2 separate regions of the Homo sapiens genome follow, and region 2 is linked to region 1. The links are contacts of gene promoters, found by promoter capture Hi-C in blood cells and fetal thymus (Javierre and others, 2016). All regions are on one chromosome and are shown on one strand. The core of a region is centred on a gene start or on the middle of the fragment in contact, and the rest is flanking DNA. Distances in the headings are between cores, read along the strand shown. Region 1 holds the start of LINC01352 (long intergenic non-protein coding RNA 1352). Region 2 has its middle 14 kb from the start of TRT-TGT2-1.

Region 1 (4,426 bases), core at 1,318-3,817:
GTTTTTGTTTTTGTTTTTTCTTAATTGAGTCATCTTTACTTAAAAATGCTAATTTCCAGCTTCACTTGTAAGATCAGAATATCTGAAAACACTTTACACTTATTCCAAAATGACTCCAACTGGTTGGAGCTAAGTAGAACTTAGAGCCTATGATGATTAATTTTATGTGTTGATTTGACTGGGCTAAGGGGTGCCCAGATAGCTGGGAAAACAATATCTCTGGGTGTGCCTGTGAGGGCGTTTCTGGAACAGGTGTTAATCAGTAGACTGAGTAAAGAAGATCCACCCTCACCAATGTGAATAGGCATCATCCAGCCCATTGAGGGCTCAAATAAAACAAAAGGCAGAGGAAGGGTGAATTCTGTCTTCCGGAGCTGGGACATCTTCCCTTAGATATCAGAGCTCCTGGTTCTCAAGCCTTTGGACTTTGGGACTTACACCATCAGTTCTCCTTGATCTTATGCCTTTGGATTCAGACTTAATTACGTCACTGGCTTTGCTGTTTCTCCAGCTTGCAGACAGGAGGTGGTGGGTCTTCTAGGACTCCACAATTGCATGAGCCAACTCCCATAATAAATCTCTTTACATATCTATCCAATGGGTTCCATTTCTCTGGAGAATGCTGACTAACACAGATCCCCTTCGATCAAGCACGAGCCCTGAGTTGGCCATGGTCCTACCTGTCATAATGAGAGAACTCTTCTCATTTGTGTTATGGGTCCTGGAGGCATTTGATTATTGGTCTGGTCATTCACAGGAAACCCATGTAGAAACAGCAAGCATACCTAGGAAAACTAGGAGAGAATTCCCAGAGTTCTAAGGGCTTATAGAAGTGCAGTGTCAATGAATGCAGGATTGAACCAAGCTGGAGAGAGGGAGGCTGGCCTGCAGAAGAAGATATCCTTTACTGGTACCTGAATTGGCTCCTGCCAAGTTTATCTCTGCTGATGAGGAAGCTTTGCCTCTAGTTTCTCTCCTGAGAAGGGAGAGTTTCAATCAACCTTGGCTTTTCATAAAGGACTTGGGGCTGCTGGCTGAATAGCCTGTGTGTTGGGGTTCACCCATGGGGATTTTCAAGGAGGCCTGAATCTTCTGATCCATCCAATCTCTCATTTTACACTTGAAGAAACTGAGGCTGAGAAAGGGGAAGTGACTTGGCCAAGGCCACACAGCAAGGTCAAGATCCAAGACTAAAACCAATTGCTTCTCTGTTTTGCTTATTACTACAGCACAGAAATAAAGAAATAGAGAATGGGAGAGGAGAGGTAGGTGTGGGGAGGCGATATGAAAACATGGAACAAGTGCTCTGCTTTTAGAATAACTAGAACTTTGAGCCCAGAAGATTTCTTTTCTTTTAATAAATAAATGTTTTATAATCTTACTTCTGTGGCTGGTGGGAAAAAAAGTCCTTCAAGTCCCCAAGGAATGTTAGGAAAACCTCCATTAAATTCTAGTCTTCAAATCTGAGTCATAATAACTATAATAAACTCTGGGAGTGTTTCCTTAGAGTTTCTCTTTTAGGGTGGAGAGGAGGCAGCAAAAAGAATAGGCAAGTTTTCACAAGAAAAACTTGTAAATAGGCAAGTATAACAAGAAAATGTATAAACCGGGATGGCTTCATAATTAGGCATAGCCTAATTGTGCTTATGTGTCTAGTCAAGAAACTCTATCTAGAGTTCCAGGGGAAGAAGGTGTTGGGGATGAGGGAGTAGGATTGGTTTGAGGGTAGTAGACTATATAAGGCATCATGCTCCTTCCCATGGAGGGGATGTATGATGGTTAATATTAGGTGTCAACTTGATTAGATTGAAGGATGCAAACTATTGTTCCTGGATGTGTCTGTGAGGGTGTTGCCAAAGATATTAACTTTTGAGTCAGTGGACTGGGAGAGGCAGACCCACCCTCAATCTGGGCGGGCACCATCTAATCAGCTGCCAGCACAGCCAGAATAAAAGCACACAGAGGAACATGGAAGGAGTAGACTTGCTGAGTCTTCCAGCCTTCATCATTCTCTCGTGCTGGATACTTCCTGCCCTCGAACAACAGACTCCAAGTTCTTCAGCTTTTGGACTCTTGGATTTACACCAGCAGTTTGCCGGGGGCTCTGGGGCCTTCAGAAGGCTGCACTGTCAGCTTCCCTACTTTTGAGGTTTGGGGACTCGGACTGGCTTCCCTGCTCTTCGGCTTGCAGACAGCCTATTGTGGGACTTCACCTTGTGCTCATGCAAGTCAATACTACTTAATAAGCTCCCCCTCATTTATACATCTATCCTGTTAGTTCTGTCCCTCTAGAGAAACCTGACTAATATAGCATGTGTATGTGCTTTTCCCTTTGCTTGGAATGCTTGTCCCCACTCTGACCCTAAGCACCACCACAACCTTCCTTCCTGGAGCTCAGGCTGTTATCCTCCAGGGCTCTGCTGATTCCCTGGGCACCCCGCACTCTGCTTCACAGCACTCATCACATTTGTCACTTGTGTAATTTGTTGCTTATCCCAGGCTTCCGTATTACATGATAAGCTCCATTAATGACAGTGTTGTCTGCCTTGGTTTTGTTCATGATGAGCACAGTGCCTGGCCCACAGTACCAGCTCACTAAGTATTTAGCAAAGGGCTTTATGAGGTCATCCCTGGCTCCAGCACCTCACAATCTTTATGGTGACTGTTCAGAGGGCAGCTAAGCAGAAAAGAAGTTTTCAACAAGGCTGTTTCTGGCCTGTTTTCCCTCTCAGTACTACATGGCAAGTCACGTCTCCAAACTGAGGAGTGTGCCTGAAGAGTCAGGTCTGGCAGAGAAAGGATTTCTTGCCCTAGGTTTAAACAAGCAATGTCAACATAACTTCCAAAGGCATCGGCTGCTTGGAAGAAGTGAATCCCTTGGGTCATTCCCTTGATTATTGTGAACCCGTGGCTGAGCAGGACAGAAATGTCACACAGGTGGACTGAGAACAAAATGATTTCAGATATGGGAGCCCCAAAGTGGCATCCCAAGGACAAGTGCTCAGAATTGCATGACTTGGTTTTCTGTTGAGCTATTCTGTCTTGGATAATTACAGCATGAGCTCTTGGCCAGTGGTGGGAATTAATTGGTTTTAATTCTCCCGCAAAGATTCTCTTAAGTAAAAGTAAAACATTTGCAAACTGGAGTTCTTTGAGTTATTGGTAACAACTTACTTTGCACCTCATAGCACACTGGTTAATAGCCTCCGCCAAATAACTAATATTTAGGCACTTTGCTAATGTATGCAAAGTGCTTTTAAGTATTATGCTATTAAATCTTCACAACATCACAGGTAGGTATTAGCACCATCTTACCTATTTTATGGATATCCAAACAGAGGTCTTCAAAAGTTAGAAAATCTGCACAGTCACAGAGCCAGTGGAGCCACAGCTGAGGCATGGACAGGCTGCTCTCCTACCACCTGCCAGGCCGCTCTTGCCCAGCTCATGAGGTCCAAAGTTTTCTCAACAAACTGCTTGGTGTCGATGTTGTAACCTGGAGCATTGCCCTGCAGCAGAAAGGCAGGCCTGGACATTCGCATGTCAGCATGGGGCGAAGCTGATAATTTCCAGTTGGGATCCAAGAAAAAGAAAAGCTCTCCACATGCCAACAACATTGTTATGAAGCTCTCTTGACCCAGCTACCCAACAGTGATCTCAAACATTTGGTCTCTCCAGTGTGTGTATGGGGGTGGGGGGCAGCTGGGCGTGTAGCCTTGTACACTTTGCACTTGGAGAGGTAGGGACAGGGGTCTAAATTAAGGGAAACCCTGCCCAGGGGCTGGCTTTGGGAAGCATGCCCAGCAGCCATGTGGAAGTTCACTGCATTACGGTGAATTACACCAGGTGGGGTGAGTACAGGACAAGGAAGTAGAAGTCAGAGCCTGCTTTTCAAAATCACCCTGCAGGCTGTTGTCCCCAGAAGAAGAGATCAACCTCAGGGGAGACCAGAGTCCTAAACACAAAACAAAAGAGTAATAAGGGAGGAAGCAAATGAAGTTGCTTATCTCATTTATTTATTTTTCTCTCCCATTTCCGCCTATGCTCCTCCAACTGAACCCCCCCTAGTCTCTGGTTTCCTGGCCACTATCTGGCCAATAACCTCCACATTAGCATCCCCAGCCCCTCTGTGCCCCCTGTAATCTCTTCTCCAGGCTTTGCTGAGGACTGTATTTACTGCCACACAGGATTTCCGTAGGTGATAACAGCAGGGCCTGGTTGGCTTGACCCTCTGTTCAGAGCCAACCCTTGGCTTCTTATGGTGTCCTCTTACAGCAAGGGAAGAATCTTAGTTTCTCCCAAGAATGTGACTCTCTTTAAGTGTCTTACCTACACTCAACAACTAAGCAAGCCTCTTGATGAGCAGCCCTTCACTCTCACATCCTCAACACTGTGGACTGAGAATTTACATTTTTTTAAAAAGGCA
Region 2 (4,780 bases), core at 1,332-3,831, 1.6 Mb before region 1:
AGATTATAAAGTGTCAGAGGCTGCTCTGGAAAAAAAAGGTGCAATGAATTCTTGTTCAATCATTAATGGTGCTTCAAAGGACATACAGGCCCATGCACACATCCTTCTATGTAGGTACAGAGAATTATTTTTATCCTGAGTTGCACACATTTATTATGTTATTAATAGCATGGACTCAACTGGGTGTCCCACAGAGTGACTCTTCTAATGACTGGTTAGGAAATTTGACAGCAAGTAAGAGGGCGGTGAGCCTGCTTTCTGGTCTGGGCCTGAGTGACCCCCCATCTTCCTCCATTTGGTTGAGAACAGGCTACAGGTCAGACCTCAGCCACTGGGATACTGAACCAGGGCTTCCTGGACCAGCGCCTCTTTAGGGTTGAACACTCACCTTCCTGCAGTACAAAGCAGTGGGCAGTCTCGAGTGCCCTTCTGAGGTCAGCCTGTTGGGGTGTAAATGGTTCTTGAAATGCATCTGATTTCCAGCTTGTTAGCATCTCATTGTCTCCCTTAGAGTTTCAGCCTCCCTTAGAGTCCTCACACCTTGTCAAGACAGATGCTTCCTGGAACAGGATCTCTGAGCTGTGGAATGGAAAGTACCTTTATCATCTTTGCCTGTCTCCTAACAGGTTTGTCCCTTGTCATTCTATGTCAGTTTCAGGTAGGGTGGCAGGAGAAGGGAATTTGTTGAGAGCCCACCGTGCTTCAGGTACATATTAGGTGCCTTATATACATTATCTCACTTAATACTCAAAACCCCCCTGTCAGGTAGCTGTAATTAGCTCTGACTTAGAAGTTTCTAACCATGCAACTTGCAAATGTTGTACCTGGGATTTAAAGCTCAGATCTGAGCTCTTCCTAGTACATCTTACTCTTGAAATGTGTGCTTTAATACATTTATTTAATCATCTTTTTTGCAAAAAGGACTGTGCTAGGCAATCTAGAGTGAGGCATGGTTCTTGTCCTTAGGGAACTCCAGTACCATTGTGGGAGGAAGATTCACACAGACGGAAGTTAATGAATAATGTGAAGAAATGTCACACATGTCCAGTGAGAAGAAATGATGTGTGCTACAGGACTTCAACTGAGGAAGGGATGCCTGCGTGGTCAGAGGAGGCTCATGGAAAAGGTAGGATATGAATTCGTTTTTGAAACATGAATAAGATTTGGGTGGGGGCAGAGATGGGACACATTACACTTGCAGTGAACCCACCTGGTGTGTTCTGAGAATAGAGCAGCTTCATGATGGGAATAGGGGTGGAAGAGCGATCCCTTTGGGGTGGGAGACTTAATGCCAGGTTCTGGAATTTGGACTTCGTCCTGAAGGCAATGGGGGAACTACCAGCATTTTCTGATTGGGGTGGGGAGTAGGTAATGACTTGAGAAAAGTAGAACTTTTAGAAATACTAATGAGGAAACAAATGGTAGAAAGGATTGGTGAAAAGAGAGACTAGGGAGGAGGGAAAAAGGGAGAAGACTTAGGAAGCTGATCATTTGCCCATCATGTAAGTGCCAAGTAATATGCTAAGAAACTTTGTGTCACCTATAATCTCGTATCCTCAGCCGGTCCTTATGCAACATCTATTATTATCCCAGGTTCGTAAGATGATCATGTGTCACTACCACCCAACAAACCTGTTTTCTCTTCTTCCTGGGAATACAGCTAGACCAAATATTCCAGGCTCTTTAGGTGTGGCCATGGGTATCCCTTCCAGGCCTGGCTTATACAATCTCCCTGGGCAATCTCTCCTCCTCTTCCCCTGTCTGCTGAATGTTGATGAGCAAGGTGACCATTGTGGCTAGCTACTGGGGGCTTGTCTTTGCCCTGCTTCATCCTCTGGATTCCAACAGGGACCCCAGGCCCTTGCCTTAGCAGGGAAGGGACAGGAGGCAGCAGAGACCAGTGTCTGGACATCAGTGATTGTAGCTTCAAGGGGAGCATTGGAGTCTCTCACAGGCTGATCCATGGACTGCAGGTGCCACCTTATCTGTACTCAGGGTATTTGGAGAAGGGAATTATGGAAAGAGACTGGTCATCCTGCTGCTCTGGGCAGGTAGGGGCTCAGTGTGGTTATGGTTTGAAAATTAAAACAAACATCTTTTACCTTTTTTTTTTTTTTGAGATGAAGTCTTGCTCTGTCACCCTGACTAGAGTGCAGTGGCACGATCTCGGCTCACTGCCTCCCAGGTTCAAGTGATTCTCCAAGATGTGATAATTTAGTTACCAAATGACGGCAGTGAGAATGAAAATCAAGGGACAAAAGATGATCAATACTATGGGGTGAATAAATTACTACATTTGGTGATTGATTCAAGATTTAAGATGTCACGAGTATAGCTTAGAGATAAGTGATTAGGGATCTAAGGGAGGAGTTCAAGAAAACTCTCTGCTCGTCCCAAGCCAAACTCCCTATGTGTGCTATGGTTCCTAAACCCTCCCTCCAATCAAGTGTTTGCTTCTACAATTACTTCTTTTTCCCTGACATCTTCACATTTTCCTTCTCCCCTGGCTCATACTCATCAGCATATAAATATGCTGGAATCTCCTAACATAAAACGCCTCATGTTAGACTTAGTTTTAACTCCTGCTCCATTTCTCTGCTCCTGTTTCTCTTAAAGCTCCTGAGAAGGGCTGTGTGCTCTTGCTGTGTCTGCTTCATCCCTCACTTCCCATTCTCTCACGGGTTCCCTCCCATGCACCACTGAAACTACCCTTGTCTCCTCTTTCGAGCTCCAGGTTGCCAAAGCCAATGGCCGATGCTGTCTTCACCCTACTGGGGCCCTGGGCTCCGCCGACTCTTCTAGGGATGTTTCTTTGCTTTGCTTCTGGGAAAGTGCACTCCTGATTTTCTTCTAACTTTCAGGCAGCAACAGCTCCTTCTGTCTCCAGGCTGCCTTTTTGTTTTTTTTTTCTGTTTTTGGTTTGTTTGTTTGTTTTTGAGATGGTGTCTCACTCTGTTGCCCAGGCTGGAGTGCAATGGTGTGATCTTGGCTCACTGCAACCTCCGCCTCCGGGTTCAAGTGATTCTCCTGTCTCAGCCTCCCAAGTAGCTGGGATTATAGGTGTGTGCCACTACTCCTGGCTAATTTTTGTATTTTTAGTAGAGACGGGGTTTCACCATGTTGGCCAGGCTGGTCTCGAACTCCTGACCTCAGGTGATCCACCTCCCTCAGCCTCCCAAAGTGTTGGGATTACAGGCGTGAGCCACCACACCTGGCCCAGGTGTGGTGCCTTTTCATTCTCCTCCAAATCTCTGAATGTCGACACATCCCGGGACAGGTCCCCTGCTTCTTTTCTTTCTCCAGGTTCCCTTACTGAATGAGCTCATCTTGACCCAGAGTGTTCAATATCTGTGTGAAACACTATAAACTCCTAAAATGGTAAGAAAAAGAAAAGAAAATGGAGGCCTCCCCGCCATGATCTCCTAAGCCTGTTGTATTTTTGTTCATAGCGTTCATCACCACCTGATGTAATATTTTATGTTTATTTTTGGCTTACCGTGTGGGTTCCCCCATCCATGAGGACAGCGGCCCTGTCCTGTTCAATGCTGCAGCCCCCGCCCCTGGGCAATGCCCACACAGGGTGGGCACCCAGTCTGTTCTTGTGGGATATGTGACAGAACAGAGCCTGGCTCCTGATGAGGAATGTGAGTCAAGGGACAAGCTGGTTTGGGAAACTGGAGACTGATCCTGTGTTGGGCCTGCTGAGCTGCAGGCCACCCAGGTGGAGTTCCACATGCCGCTGGACATTCCAGGCTGCAGCCTGGGGGAGGCCTGAGTTGGAGATGTGTGTCCTCGTTAAGGTGCTGCTGGGCTGGGCATGGTGGCTCACGCCTATAATCCCAGCACTTTGGGAGGCCAAGGTGGGTGGATCATTTGAGATCAGGAGTTGGAGACCAGCCTGGCCAACATGGTGAAACCCCATCTCTACTGAAAATATAAAAATTACCCGGGTGTGGTGGCACATGCCTGTAATCCCAGCTACTCAGGAGGCTGAGGCAGGAGAATCGCTTCAACCTGGGAGGCGGAAGTTGCAGTGAGCTGAGATTGTGCCACTGTACTCCAGCCTGGGCTACAGAGTGAGGCTCCATCTCAAAAAAAAAAAAAAAAAAAAGTTGCTGCTGAAGCCAAAGGGTGTGTGAGCCCCTAGGACCTAGGGGATCAGCAGCTGGGGCCTGAAGTTTGGGAAATGAGGTGCAGGTTGGGGCTGAGGAACAATGGGAGCACAGAGATGTTATCTTGTCTGGGAAAGAAGGCAAGAGGTTCAAAACAGATGGGCTGGCTAGCAGTTTGAAACATTGTAGAAAATCAAATAAAATGCGCTGAATTTGGTAATTAGGTCATTGGAGAATGCAGCTGAGTGGAGCAGAACTGATGATATTTCAGGAGCTTCAAATATTGGAGTATTGCAGGCTATTGTGACGGGGGTTTGATAAGAGAAGGAAAGCAAGGTATAGGATGGCAGTCTAAGGGGGCAGCAGTGTGTGTGATAGGAAAGGTGTTTTGTCCCTTAACGTTGGGGAGGCCTGGGTATATGTGACACCCTGCTCATCAGAGCTTCTGAAGACCTAGGGTACACAGATGAGCAAAACCAACAAATTCATATAACAGATTATTTACATCAACAAGTAATATATATGCACTGGCCTAAAGAAATCAACAAATTTATATACCACAGCATTAAAACAATGTTCTGCTGGGTGCAGTGGGTCACACCTGTGATTGCAATCCTTTGGGAGGAGAGGAAGGAATATCACTTGAGCTCAGGAGTTTGAGACCAGCT

The links. The method cuts DNA at HindIII sites, captures the fragments that hold promoters and counts their contacts. A CHiCAGO score of 5 or more calls a contact.
Region 2: a contact is called between a fragment that was not itself captured here and the fragment with the promoter of LINC01352 in region 1, in 1 of 17 cell types (naive B cells). The highest score is 6.3, in naive B cells.

The regions. Positions count from the first base shown.
Region 1 is chr1:220,827,396-220,831,821 of GRCh38, reverse strand. It overlaps LINC01352 (long intergenic non-protein coding RNA 1352), which reads right to left and starts at 2,567. Exons shown (of 4, transcript NR_110797.1): 1 at 2,380-2,567; 2 at 915-1,129; 3 at 439-680. The HindIII fragment of the contact is 6,544 bases long and covers 959-4,426 here.
Region 2 is chr1:222,449,086-222,453,865 of GRCh38, reverse strand. No RefSeq gene overlaps it. Among named protein-coding and RNA genes, the nearest start is that of TRT-TGT2-1, 14 kb to the left of the region's middle. The HindIII fragment of the contact is 6,115 bases long and covers 1-4,780 here.